2 separate regions of the Homo sapiens genome follow, and region 2 is linked to region 1. The links are contacts of gene promoters, found by promoter capture Hi-C in human tissues and cell types (Jung and others, 2019). All regions are on one chromosome and are shown on one strand. Each heading gives the region's core, a stretch centred on a gene start or on the middle of the fragment in contact. The rest is flanking DNA. Distances are from core to core; before and after follow the strand shown.

Region 1 (7,254 bases), core at 2,746-5,245:
GTGAAACCCTGTCTCTACAAAAAAAATACAAAAAAAAAAATAGCCAGGTGTGGTGGCGCCCGCCTGTAGTCCCAGCTACTCAGGAGGCCAAAGTGGGAGGATCGCTTGAGCCCAGGAGGCAGAGATTTCAGTGAGCCGAGATGGGGCCACTGCACTCCAGCCTGGGTGACAGAGACCCTGTCTCAAAGAAAAGGAAAAAAAAAAAGTTGTTTGAGCTGTGAGGTTACACTGAAACTCCCCAAGCATCCCACCAAACCTTCATTGTAGCTAATGTGGTGTAGCAGCTAAGGGTGAAACCCCTGGTGCCTGTCTATGTGGTTTCAAATCTTGCCTCCACCACTCTCTAGCTGTGCAACCACTGTAAGTGACTGCACGCCACTGAGCCTCAGTCTCTCAAATGTGAGCTAACGAGAGCAACCTAACGCCACAGCGGTGCCTGCTACATGTAAGCGTGCAGGACATATTAGGGATGGTGCTCATTATCATCTTGCTTGGGGAATGTCCATCATTTCTTTCTCTCTCTCTCTTTTTTTTTTTTTTTTTCAGACAGGGTCTCACTTTGTTACCCAGGCTGGAGTGCAATGCCGTAGCACAATCACAGCTCACTCTAGCCTCAGCTCCCCTGGGCTCAAGTGATCCTCCTGCCTCAGCCTCCCAAATAGCTGGGACGACAGGCATGTGCCACCATGCTCAGATAAAGAGTGTCAATTTCTCTTTTTTTTTTAAATTTTATTATTATTATACTTTAAGTTTTAGGGTACATGTGGTTTGTTACATATGTATACATGTGCCATGTTGGTGTGCTACACCCATTAACTCATCATTTAGAATTAGGTATATCTCCTAATGCTATTCCTCCCCTCTCCCCCCAAGAGTGTCAATTTCTGAAATGGATGAAGAAAAAACCAAGATGTGTGTGTGTGTGTGTGTGTGTGTGTGTGTGTGTGTGTGTAGAAAGAGAGAGAGAGAGAAGGGGTAAAGGTGCTGAGAGAGGGCTGGAAATGCAAGCTCACAGGCAGGAACGGAGCCTGGCTGGCTCACAGCTGCATTCCCAGTGCATGGTATTGTAGTAGGTGCCAAATAAGATGTTGACTGAATGAATGAATGTGAGAAGCATGAACCTTTCCCCACTAGGAATCCCTTGAAATCTTGGAGGTCAGGCTGAGTGTTCCCATTCATGGAATGAAAATAAGGTGCTCCAAATTTCAAAGGGTCAGCTCAGGGATGCTCTGGTGGACATGACAAGGGACCACACATCCCTCCAGCCTCCCAGGGTCAGAGGGCTCCTCCCCAACCGCCTCACCTGCCTCTCTCTGTCCCATCTCCCCCACATCACTCAATTCCAGGGCCCTCCACAGTCTCCTGCTCTGACACCCTTCCCCATGCAGTTCCCACTCCCTGGCAGTGCCCTCCTCTTCACCCTTAAAGGCCAGCTGGAATGTGCCCTCCTCTGGGAGGTCCACCAAGATTTCATCTCACAGTCCTTGAACACACCTCACCCTAGCCACATGTTCTGTATTACAATTATTGGAGTCTGTATTGGTTTTCCCCACGGGACCGGGGGCACCATGGGGGCAGGAACTATCCAGGTGATTCACCTCATGTCCCCAGCATTGCCTAGCATCAGGCTATGCACAAACAGGTGAGTGAATAAAGAAACGAACAAAGGCATGAACTTCACCCCTCAGGTGTTTGGAGGTTTCTGGCTGTCTTGGGGGCCTCTCTCTGCCCTCTGATCCCTGACAGGCCATTCTTTCCAAAGTCAGCCCCCAACCCACTCTCTCCAGCCAGCCCCACCCTGACACTTACAGGCCACCTTTTCGGCGTGGGTCAGCTGGGTCCAGCTTCCCTTCTCCTTCTCCTTCAGGGCCTGCTCCTCAGCGTTGAGTTCTGTGCAGAAGGGCTCTTCTGGCATGGGGTAGTAGCGCTGGGCATAGCAGTTGGTGTAGGGGGACATCTTCCCCCCACCACGGGCTGCAGACACAATGGAGGGAGCTGAGTCCAGGCTGCCCTTGGGACACCCTATCTCTAACTATATTAATAAAGAAGGTGGCCGGGCTTGGTGGCTCATGCCTGTAATCCTAGCATTTTGGGAGGCTGAGGCGGGTGGATCACGAGGTCAGGAGTTCGAGACCAGCCTGGCCAAGACAGTAAAACCTCTCCTCTACTAAAAATACAAAAATTAGCCGGGCGCAGTGGTGGGCACCTATAATCCCAGCTACTCGGGAGGCTGAGTCAGGAGAATTGTTTGAACCCAGGAGGCGGAGGTTGCAGTGAGCCGACATTGCGCCACTGAACACTCTAGCCTGAGCGACAGAGCAAGACTCTATCTCAAAAAAAAAAAAAAAGGAGGTTTATAATAGCTTGGGGTACTAGTAAGGGCTCAATAAATGTTATCTTTGTTATTCTCCATGGGTCAGCAAGGCCCTTCTGCTATCTGGCTGAAGTCTCTCCTACTTTAGGTCTCTTTCTTCTTACTAGCATTGAAACTAGGGTCTGGAAAGGAGGAATCAGGGTCCAAGGTTCTGTCAGCATCCTCCACCTCAGAACAAAAGGTCTAGGGGCCTGAGGCTTGGGGGCTGGCTCCTAAGGAAGCTTGGAATGGAGATGACCACTGTCTGCTCACCCCGCGCACTCCATTTCCTGGAGAAACTTGACCTTGGACCAAGGAGTGGGATCATGGGAACATGGGAAGTGTGGTAGGAACAGGCCCAGGGTGGCATGGAAGGGCAAAGGGGGCAGCCTGCAGAGGGGACCCCTGCCCCTATCTCTGGAGTTAGGCAGGGAGGAAGGAGTCCAGGTCTCACTGGTGCCTTCTGAGCTGTGCATCCCTCGTCTTCCACCTCCACCTTTCCTCAGCACCAAGCTCCAGGCAGCTCTGGGGAGCATCTGGGGGCGTGAAGGTATAGATGAGTTCTGCCCCCACATCACCCTCTGCCCCCAAACCGCAGGGCCAGATGGAAAAATCCTTTTCCACTGGTATGGTAGTGGTAGGGGTGTCCCAGTGTTTCAAGGTCACCCTCATGCCCTTGACCCTTCTAATTTTGTCTGATATCCCCAGCGGGGGGCCAATGGGGGTCCTAGACCTTTGAAGCCCCTTTTTGGGACCTCAATTCACCATCTGAGAAGTGGGAGGAGGCCTAAGTCTTGGGCCAGGGTCTGAAGAGTTTGAGGCTGAGGGCTTGGGTTCTGGTGCCAGCCCCAGCTCAGTCTGGCCAGATTGGAGAACCCCGCTCACTTGTTTGCTCCCCAGAGGAAGCTGGGTGGGGTCCAGGTGGAGAGGGAGCAGTTCTTGAGTCTCTCTTCCCTGCAGGGGCCAGAGGCCCCTGCACCGGCAGAACAGACAGACGGTCTGGCCCCCACCCCTTCCCCCCTAATTGGCTGCCTACGTGCACACAGGCCTGCTCTGCTGGATCTGGTTGGGGTGGGGACTGGGCTTAGCCAGTCTGGCTGAGCCCAGTCTCCCACCCCCAGGGAAGACTCAGGGTTTGGCATCCATGGTGGTGGGGAGGGGCTTTAGAGGATGGGGACTTAACTGGGTCAGAGGGAGGGAGACACACATCTGGGGAAAAGAAGGGGAGTCCCACATCTAGGGAGAGAGAGGGGCACCCAACAAATAGAGTGAGGGAGGGGGCACACTACAGGTGATAAGTGGGAGGGGGCGGCCCACACTTCTGGAAAAGAGGGGCTCCGGCCAGTGATTATGATTAGTGGGTGGGAGAGCTCCACATATCAAGAGAGGGAGGATGTAATCTATATTTGGGGAAAGAGATGGCACACATATGCAGACTCCCCAGGAGTCTTCAACTCTAACCTACAAGAAGCCCCCCAACCCTCTAAGACAGGGACCACTGGGGCGTGACCCAGCGGCGAAGGCAGGAGACCGAGCCGCGCCCCTGACCCGCGCGGGCTTGGGTGGCGGGGTCCTCCCCCAACTCACTCACCTCGCGGGCTCGGCAGTGGGAGCGCGACCTGGGTCTGCCCAGCGAGCAACTGAGAACCCGCTGCGGAGGGACCTGAGTGCGGGCGCCCGCCCCCGGCCCGCCCCACAGCCTTTCTCGGGGCCGCCCCAGCGTGGGAACGTCCTGCTTCGGCAGGGCGTGGGAGCGCACAGCCTGCGTCCCTGGGGGCACCCCGGCCCACAGATTGGGGGGAGGCACTGCAGAGCGCCTCCTGCATCAGTGTCCCTACCGGGGTCCTGCCTCTGGAGACCCTCTGCAGACAGTAGTCCCAAGAACAGGGTCTCCCTGCCTCCTCCACACCTCCCCTCCTTGCTGTTTCTCCCACCTGGGATGTTCTCTTCAGGCCTTTGCAGACGCAAACCTTCCAGCCAGGCCCAATGCCTCCTACTCCAGAAGCATCTTTTAGGCCAGCAGTGGCTCACGCCTGTAATCCTAGCACTTTGGGAGGCCGAGGCGGGAGGATCACCTGAGGTCAGGAGTTTGAGACCAGCCTGCCCAGCATGGCGAAACACCTTCTCTATTAAAAATAGAAAAATTGGGCGGGCGCGGTGGCTCATGCCTGTAATCTCAGCGCTTTGGGAGGCCAAGGCAGGCAAATCACGAGGTCAGGAGTTTGAGACAGCTTAGCCAACATGGTGAAACCCCATCTTTACTAAGAATACAAAAATTAGCTGGGCGTGGTGGCACGCACCTGTAATCCCAGCTACTCAGGAGGCTGAGGCAGGAGAATCGCTTGAACCCGGGAGGCGGAGGTTGCGGTGAGTCGAGATCCGGCTACTGCACTCTAGCCTGGGCAGCAGAGCTAGACTCCATCTCAAAAAAAAAAAAAAAAAAAAAAAAAGTTAGCAGGGCGTGGTGGCGCGCACCTATAGTCCCAGCTTCACAGAGGGCTGAGGCAGGAGAATCACTTGAACCTGGGAAGCGGCTGTTGCAGTGAGCCGAGATCGGGCCACTGCACTCCAGCCTGGGCAACAGAACAAGACTCTGTCTCAGAAAAAAAGAAAAAGAAAAAGAAAAAAAAAATTCCCAGCACTTTGGGAGGCCAAGGGGGGCAGATCATGAGGTCAGGAGATGGAGACCATCCTGGCTAACACAGCGAAACCCCGTCTCTACTAAAAATGCAAACAAAATTAGCCAGGCATGGTGGCAGGCGCCTGTGGTCCCAGCTACTCAGGAGGCTGAGGCAGGAGAATGGCTTGAACCCGCAAGGCAGAGGTTGCGGTGAGCCAAGATCATGCCACTGCACTCGAGCCTAGTGACAGAGCGAGACTCCATCTCAAAAAAAAAAAAAAAAAAAATAGACAAGGCTCAGGCACATTTATTCAAGAATTACTTATAAAACTGGGCGTGGTGGCTCATGCCTGCAATCCCAGCACTCTGGGAGGCGGAGGCGAGCAGATCACCTAACGTCAAGAGTTTGAGACCACCCTGGCCAACGTGGTGAAATCCCGTCTCTACTAAAAATACAAAAATTAGCCGAGTGTGGCAGGGGACACCTATAATTCCAGCTACTCGGGAGGCTGAGGCTAGATAATCGCTTGAACCTGGGAGGCAGACGTTGCAGTGAGCCAAGATCGCACCACTGCACTCCAGCCTGGGTGGTAGAGTGAGACTCCTCAAAAAAAAAAAAAAAAAAAAAAAAACTTAAAAAAAACTTATAAAGACCTGTTTCAGCTGGCATTTATTGCATACTTGTTTACCAGGATAAATGTTGGGGGCTATAGAGCCAAAAAAAACCAGACATAGTTCCTGCCCCCACAGGGCTTACAATTCTGTTCTAGGCAGAGGAAAAGGCCTGTGCAAAGACCCAGAGGCAGGAAAACACAGCATGTTCAAAAAACAGAAGAGACAGGCCAGGTGCAGTGGCTCACGCTGTAATCCCAGCACTTTGGGAGGTCAAGGCAGGTGGATCACAAGATCAGGAGATCGAGACCAGCCTGGCTAACACGGTGAAACCCCATCTCTACCAAAAATACAAAAAATTAGCCAGGCGTGGTGGCATGCACCTGTAGTCCCAGCTACTTGGGAGGCTGAGGCAGGAGAATCGCTTGAACCCGGGAGGTGGAGGTTGCAGTGAGCCAAGATTGCACCATTGCACTCCAGCCTGGGCGACAGAACGAGACTCCGTCTCAAAAAAAAAAAAAAAAACAACTGAACAGAAGAGACAGCCAGGTGCGGTGGCTCATGCCTATAATCCCAGCACTTTGGGAGGCCGAGGCGAATGGATCACCTGAGGTCGGGAGTTTGAGACCAGCCTGGCCAACATGGTGAAACCCCGTCTCTACTAAAAATAAAAAAATTGGCCAGGTGTGGTGGTGCACATCTGTAATCCCAGCTACTCGGGAGGCTGAGGCAGGAGAATCGCTTGAATCTGGGAGGCGGAGGTTGCAGTGAGCCAAGATCCCACCGTTGCACTCCAGCCTGGGCAACAAGAGCGAAACTCCATCTCAAAGCAACAACAAAAACAATAACAAAAGAAGAGAGGTCATCTTGGCCAGAGTGTCATGGTTAAAGGGGAGGCTGGATGGAGGGAGAGGTGGGCTGGACCACCGAGAAGGACCTGTAGGCGGTAGTGAGGAGCTTGGATTTTATTTAAAGAAGGTGATTAAGCTGGCATGGTGGCACACCCCTGTAGTCCCAGGTGCTCAGGAGGCTGAGGCAGGAGGTGGAGGTTGCAGTAAACTGAGATTGCACCACTGCACTCCAACCTGGGCAACAGAATGAGACCCTGTCTCAATAAATAAATAAATAAATAAAATAAAATGAAGGTGGGAGGCAACCAAAGTTAAGAAGAGGAGTGATGTGTTCAAATGAAGCAGAGCACAAGTTCAGTAAATGTGTCCCGGGACTGTTAGTATACGGATGGTGGATGAATGGGAGAGGGCTGGGGGTCCCCTCGGTGGCCTGGAGACCAGAGCTTTCCAGGTCTCCTGGCTCTAGGTCCATGGGGTATGCCCAGCCCCCATGCCTTCCATCAGGGTTCCTATACCCTAGTGAGTCCACAGGGGCCTGCTAAAGACAGTTTCTAAAGGCTGGCCAGGCATGGTGGCTCATGCCTGTAATCTCAGCACTTTGGGGGGCCAAGGTGGGCAGATCACTGGAGGTCAGAAGTTCGAGATTAGCCTGGCCAACATGAAGAAAACCTGTCTCTACTAAAAATACAAAAATTAGCCAAGTGTCGTGGCACATACCTGTAGTACCAGCTACTAGGGAGGCTGAGGCGGAGGTTGCAGTGACCCGAGATCGCACCACTGCACTCCAGCCTGGGCGACACAGCGAGACTCTGTCTCAA
Region 2 (6,930 bases), core at 4,252-6,751, 310 kb before region 1:
GTGCTTTACAGATGAGGAAAACAACGTAAAATGCGTAATTGAAAATTGTAAGAAAGCCAGAGATGGAATTGGACTTGGGGTGGGTGTTGAGAATATATATCCAGAAGAATGGGACACTTTAGATGAGGCCAAGTGGCTGTGGCAGTGGAAGCAAATGGGGAGTAAGTATGGCTGGAGAGAGGGACAGAGACCAGGCCATAATGAAAGGTCTTGGGGGCTAAGGGAGGAAGTTTACATTTTGTTGAAAGTACACTAGAATGTGCAGAATCTTCCAGTTGCTTCTCATCTCACCTGAGTAAAATCCAGAGGTCCTACAAGACCGAGTAATCCAGCCCCCATGAATCCATGAGTGTGCCAATATCATCTCTACTCCCCCCACCCCCAACATGACTCCACCTACACTGGTCTCCTTGCTGTTCTTTTATTTATTCATTTATTTATTTATTTGGAGACAGAGCCTTGCTCTGTCACCCAGACTGGAGTGCAGTGGCATGATCTTGGCTCACTGCAACCTCTGTCTCCCAGGTTCAAGTGATTCTTGTGCCTCAGCCTCCTGAGTAGCTGAGATTACAGGCGTGTGCCACCACACCCAGCTAATTTTTGTATTTTTAATAGATACAGCGTTTCGCCATGTTGGCCAGGCCGGTCTCGAGGTCCTGGCCTCAAGTGATCCACCTGCCTCGGCCTCCCAAAGTGCTGGGATTACAGGCGTGAGCCACTGCGCCCGGCCCCTTGCTGTTCTGAACACCCCAAGCACACTACTGATCTTTGCTGTTCCTGTTGTTTCCTCTGTTTGGCTCACTCTTTCCCCAGATGTCTGCAGGGCTCACACTCTCACTTTCCTTAGGTCTCTGTGTAGATAGCATATAATCAGTAAGGCCTTCTCAGACTACCTGCTATGATTAACAAGGTCCTCCTCTGGCATTCCCTAGCCATCTTAGCCTGCTTTATTTTTCTCTACAACTCTTAAGGTCTGACAAATCATATCTTTATTCTCTCTCCTCCACTGTAACATAAGCTCCAAGAGGGCAGGAACTTTTTCTTGTTCTGCTCTGTTGTCTGTATCTAAAACAATGCCTGGCAGATAATAGGTACTCAAAAAAAAATTGTTGAAGGAATTACTATTTGCTCTTTCAGAAGATGTGATGGTTTGCTTCGGGAACATGTTTATCAAGATGCCTCACCCTGAGACAAAGGAAATGATTGAAAAAGGTAAGGCCTCCTGGGGATGGGTCAGGGGTGTGCTGCCTCTCCCACCAGCTTTGGTCTTAACCCAGAACAGGGAGTCAGGCTTCAGGCAGCGTAAGGAGAGGCAGTTCTGTCACAGGGTTCAGACTGCTGTGGGTTTTAATTCCACCTCTGCCACTGTGGGTTATTTCCTCATCTCTAAGAGGGGGATGCATCTGTGTAGCATAGCTGTGCAGTTGAGGTAAAACAATATGTGTGCCTAGCATAGTGCTTTCTTATTAGTGAGGAATCAGTTGGGCTGCAGATAACAAAACCCAACAAATTGAGGCTTAAGGAAATATGCTTCTTTTACTCTTGCATAAGAAATTGTCCAGAGGTGTGTACTCCAGTCCTGGCATAGATGCCCAGCAGTGGCACCTTAGCATATTCTCCTGGTTGTTGTTTCATCGTTGCAGGCCTCATGTCCTCATGCCAGGCTGGAGGAAAGACAGAAGGCTTTCGCCACATAGAGCTTTGCCTTCTATTTTGGAAGTAAGGCCATCTCCTCAGGGACTTCCTGCCAACATCTCATTGGCCAGAACTAAGTCACATGGTCACCCATAGCTGCAAGAGAGCCTGGGAGAGTGAGCTTTTCTTTTTTACATGCCCTGCAATAGAGACTGGGTTGAAAATGGAGGTTTGGGGAGATTAAACCTCTAGGGTCTGCCATAGCCTAGGCACTCAGTGTACTCAGTTTCCACAACCATAATCTGGAAGCTCTTTGGAAAAGCATCTTAAAGCAAGTCAGGCTGCAAATGGATTATTGGCTAGAAAAAGAACAGGCTACACATACTTTTTCTTCCATAACCTTGAAAATGGCCAAAAGGACAAGCAAGGTTGCCTCAGTCCCTGAAGACAGGATGTCTTCATACCTCATGAAATAAAACTTTTTTTTTTTTCCTTGAGACAGAGTCTTGCTCTGTCACCCAGGCTGGAGTGCAATGGTGCTATCTCGGCTCACTGCAACCTTTGCCTCCCAGGTTCAAGCAATTCTCCTGCCTCAGCCTCCTGATTAGCTGGAATTATAGGTGCATGCCATCATGCGTGGCTAATTTTTGTGTTTTTTTAGTAAAGACAGGGTTTTGCTATGTTGGCCAGGCTGGTCTAAGTGACCTCAGGTGATCCACCCACCTTGGCCTCCCACCAAAGTGCTGGGATTACAGGCGTGAGCCACTGCTCCTGGCCAGTGACATAAAACTACTAACAGGAAGCTATATCCAGCCTGGAGAAGTTTCCAGCTGTTGTGTTGAAAAAATACACTAATATTATGGTTATAAAATTAAACTGCACTTGGTGGTGGGCTGGAGGCTAAGCTTTCAGAGGGTCCCTTGCCTGGGTTCAGGATCTTGTTGGCCCTTTTGGCCCCCAAATGTCGTCTTGTCACTGTACCTAGAGGGGTTCTGAGACATTATCAGATTTCTTGGGGATCAACATAGGCTAAACAAGCTCATGGACATTGGGGTTACTCATTCACAATGAGAAATAGAACCAGGCTGTAAGGCTTGGCCATTCAGGGTTTCTCCCCCATCTGAAAGAGTGAGTCTGTGGGGAAGACAGGCTAGCCAGAATGTCACTCATGAGCAGGTGGAATTGGCTGGGTGACTTCAGTCAATTGGTCAATCAAGCTTTGATAGCCACCTCTGTCATCACACCAACTCTTCTCAGGGGCAGTCCATGACACTAGAAGACCCTTTTCTGTTCACAGTGGCTAATTAAGTTAAGCTTGAGCATTGCTTGCGTGTTGATTGTTTACGTCACATGTTTACACAATCATGTTTTTCTAAAACCCCCTCACCTTGATGGACTTGGGTTTGTAAAATTTCTTAGGCATCCATTTTCCAGCCATCTAGGGTGGGCTGAATCTAGAGATGCTTATTTTGTTTGTGCATTTGAATTTTCCATAATTTCATTGTGGGAGGGCAGCCTAAAGTCCTGATGTTGCCTTCTCCATCCACTGACCACCCCAAGGTACTTTGCATAATGCAGAAAAGGCCAGTGTAATGGGAGTTGGGACTGCTGTGTCCTGGGCTCTCTGAGTGGTCCTGAGCAGGTCATGTCCCTTCTAGACTTTAATCCTTCCTCAGTTGGCCTCTGATGTCCCCTTTTCCTTCCTGAAAGCTACACGCCCTTGCTGGGGAGAGGCTGGCCTCTCCACTACTGGGATCAAGTCTGTCTGGTACAATCTTATCCTCTGCTTGCCCCCCTCATTTTTTCAGATCAAGATCATCTGGATAAAGAAATAGAAAAACTGCGGAAGCAACTTAAAGTGAAGGTCAACCGCCTTTTTGAGGCCCAAGGTATTGGCTTAGCAGGGACTGGAGATAAGAAGGGGAGGGAATCATCAGCATGGACTTTGAAGGGCAGGGATGGGAAGTCCGACCCTCAGAGATGGGCAGTGTCCGGGGCAGCCTGTGAGTGGCCCTGGAGGTGTGCACAGTGGTTGGTTGTAGCTGCCCAGGGACAGAATGGACAGGGGGACTTCTACAGTCCTAGTCCTGTCATAGTTTCTTTTCCAGGTCCCAGGAACCGCTTGGGGTGATCTCACGTTATACATCGGGGCATGGCATGGGGATCAGATAGCTCTGACTGAGGAAACTCAGAAGGCTTCAGTGAGTGAGTGAGGTCAGAGCTGAAATTCTTGATAAATGCAAGCACTCTAGATTGGTCACAGGTCTTGGAAAAACCTGAGGTTCTTTGGGCAGCAGAGTTACGCGTTTGCAGGCTCTTGGTGACACAGGAGCAGTGGTGATGCCTCATCTGGTGCATTGCAGAATTGGAGGCCCATCCCTGCCAGACCTCCAGGCTGAGTTTGGCAGCATTAGTGCAGCGTCAGCCCCTTTCCTGGGCCTGGCTCCAGAGCCAGCAGGAGGCCCGACGTGCTGATGGATCATCTTCTCTCCTAGGCAAACCGGAGCTGAAGGGTTTTAACTTGAACCCCCTCAACCAGGATGAGCTTAAAGCTCTCAAGGTCATCTTGAAAGGATGAGACTCAAGAACCAAGATGGGGGACCAGCAACCCCCCAGGGTCATGGAGGACCCAGGACCCTCCAACCTTGACACCTGTAAGGACAGGATCTGCCCTGTAAGGGGCCAGCCGTCAGGAATCTGGCCATGAAAACCTCTTTGTAGTGCTTGGCTACTCTGTGATGGCAGGAGGGAACCTTCAGCCTGTCTGGCTGCTGGACCTGGACACCAGGGCTCGGTGGACACAAGATCTATTGACGGGCCTTGGTAGCCACCAGTGGGTGTGTGGGGCAGTGGCTGTGGGGGTGTAAGAATGACTGCAACAGGCACTTCCCAACAATGGCCTGCTGTTCACATGGACCCTGAGCAAGGAAGGAGGGAGGGAGGGGCAGAGTGGAGTGTCATTCCAGCATTCCTCTCAGAAGGGAGAGAGGTTTTCAGGCTGGTGCCATGCGATTGGAATAAAGCAGGAGGCTCATGGGTGGTTGCTGAATGAAGAACAGAATCTTGGTGCTTTGTGGCTCACCACAGCCATCTGTGGGGCAGGCACACACACCTCCCGCCAGCTCCAATTTTGCACTTTTTCCCTGCTTGATTCCAAGAGTAGGTGCTGCCTAGCAGCCCTTCGTGGCCACTCTTTACTCAGGAGGGCCTTGCAGAGTCCTGCACCAGGCCTGGGTGAGTGGATGCGCCTCTTACCATATGACACGTGTCAAGATGCCCTTCCGCCCCCTCTGAAAGTGGGGCCCGGCCAGCACTGCTCGTTACTGTCTGCCTTCAGTGGTCTGAGGTCCCAGTATGAACTGCCGTGAAGTCAAAACTCTTATGTGTTCATTAAGGGCTCAATAAATGTTAGCTGAATGAATGAATAGCAGCAACTAGTCTTTATTTGCCTCATCTAGTCCTTCAGTAAGGGCACGCCACTCCATTTAGAATACAACCTATGAACATGGTTCTTGCCTTGAAATAAACCTGTGATTTGACAGGCGGGTGATAACAAATGGCAGCATGGCAGGGGCACACCTCTCCTGGTCCCCCCGCTCCTTGGCTCTGGCTCATAGTTACATAGAAACACAGGCTGTCATGGCCAGTTCTTACGTGTTTTCAAGAGAAGCTAGACATATGGGTTGTGAAGTTGAATCTCCTTTTAAATATTTTTGACTAATGCAGAAACTTTTAAAACATGAGTGTGGGTCACAGGTGTTAGCTCCAGATAGTGCAATACCATACAACTATAATCAAGAATAAGGAACAAGCTCCAAGATACATCAAGTGAGGAAAGCAAGGGGAAGGCTGGTGTCTTATAAGCTAATAATTTTTGTGCAAGCACAGTGTGATTCCCTCAGAACAGCACCTGCAGGGTTGGGGCGCACAGGTGGGAGGGAAGGAGATGTCACCCTATACCCTTTTGTAAACTTTGGATTTTAAACCGTATGAATATATTGCTTATTTTAAAATGTAAATAAAGTAGGGAGTTGCAGAATTCACCTTGCTAGATGTTGTCCAGTGTGACTGCCTGATTCACAATTTCATCACTGGAAAATTGCCCCTTCCTCCCTGGCAGGGTGGGTGCTGGGCCAAAAAAAGCTAATCGCATTCCTTCTGGAAATAGGGAACCTGGAGTCCATGCCTGGACCTGTCTGGGTTGGTGTGCCTCAGGTACAGGGATGAGTGGGAGAAGTCCTCATGCTCTGAAGGCAGAAGGTCTAGAGTAGCCTGGCTTCTGGCTTTCCTAAAGTCGGCTGGTTCACTTCTTGGATTTGCCAGTATTTTCCTTCCAAAAGTCTTCCCTTCGGGCTTGACCTAGGCAGGCAGATTCAACCATTTGCAGCCAGAGAAACTACTCTGAAGCAGGCGGAGTGGTAGAGGGAGTAAGTCCCCCCTGGAACAGTTACCCCAACAGCCCCGAGTCTTGTTGCAACCCCTCTTAAACCAAGAGGAAGCTTAGCAATGTAAGATGTGAAAAGGCAGATTTTTACTCACACTCAACTCCCGAAGCTGTCCTGCCCATGAGCCCAGGGTTTTCCGGTTTCTGGCTCAGCTCCCAATCTCAAACACAAGGCCTAGAGAAGCACTTAAGTCACCCATCTGACTTAGATAAATGCACCTTTGCAGAGACCCTCACTAAGCTCTGCCTCCCTGGTCTGTCTTGTCCATCTGAGAAATGGGGATGCCCTGTCCCACTGGTTTTCAGATGATGGTCAGGGAGCCCCATGGGCTCCCCTGACATGCAAGGAGAAGAGGATGTGTTTAGGGCTCAGTACTTCCCCAGGCCCCCAATAAACACACAATCTAATAACTGCTTGCTGTGTAAGCACAGCTTAAAGACGAGTTCCTTAGCCTCCAAACTCTTGCTCCTGAAGGACCTTTTCAGCACTGACTTGGGAGGTATCCAAGTGTCAAAGCCAGGAGGACTTGGCTGCAGCCAACAGTATCCCCGGAACCAGGCCTGGTGCCCAGTGACTCCAAGTAGGGCCTGTGCTCATTTATTAGATATGATCTCCTGGGGGTAGCAGAACTTGCTGTATTTGTTCTCTTTGGGCCTAACTGCCAAGTCAGTTTGTCAAGGTTAAACCTCCCCCAGTCCCAGTGATTGGCTGTCTCCTGGTGCAAAGATGCCTGGGGATGGGCTGGAGGTATCCAAGGGGCCCAATTCAGGTAGTAAGCTGCAGCTGCTAAGCCAGCAAAGCTGGTGCCAGGCTGGAGGTGGGGAGGCGAATGCTGTGAGGTGCTGTGCTG

Evidence for each region. The method cuts DNA at HindIII sites, captures the fragments that hold promoters and counts their contacts. A contact is called where the count stands out against the background at its distance.
Region 2: a fragment that was not itself captured here is called in contact with the fragment with the promoter of COX4I2 in region 1 in 1 of the 25 tissues and cell types used here (mesenchymal stem cells).

What each region holds. Positions count from the first base shown.
Region 1 is chr20:31,634,653-31,641,906 of GRCh38, reverse strand. COX4I2 (cytochrome c oxidase subunit 4I2) reads right to left here and starts at 3,995. Exons shown (of 5, transcript NM_032609.3): 1 at 3,945-3,995; 2 at 2,808-2,889; 3 at 1,810-1,974. The coding sequence starts at 2,889. RefSeq lists a silencer at 3,935-4,074 and an enhancer at 7,203-7,254. The HindIII fragment of the contact is 12,374 bases long and covers 1-7,254 here.
Region 2 is chr20:31,943,090-31,950,019 of GRCh38, reverse strand. It overlaps TTLL9 (tubulin tyrosine ligase like 9), which reads right to left. Exons shown (of 15, transcript NM_001008409.5): 15 at 5,020-6,930. PDRG1 (p53 and DNA damage regulated 1) reads left to right here. Exons shown (of 5, transcript NM_030815.3): 3 at 1,138-1,212; 4 at 3,444-3,524; 5 at 4,131-5,683. The coding sequence ends at 4,213. Among named protein-coding and RNA genes, the nearest start is that of PDRG1, 5.5 kb to the left of the region's middle. The HindIII fragment of the contact is 5,609 bases long and covers 2,697-6,930 here.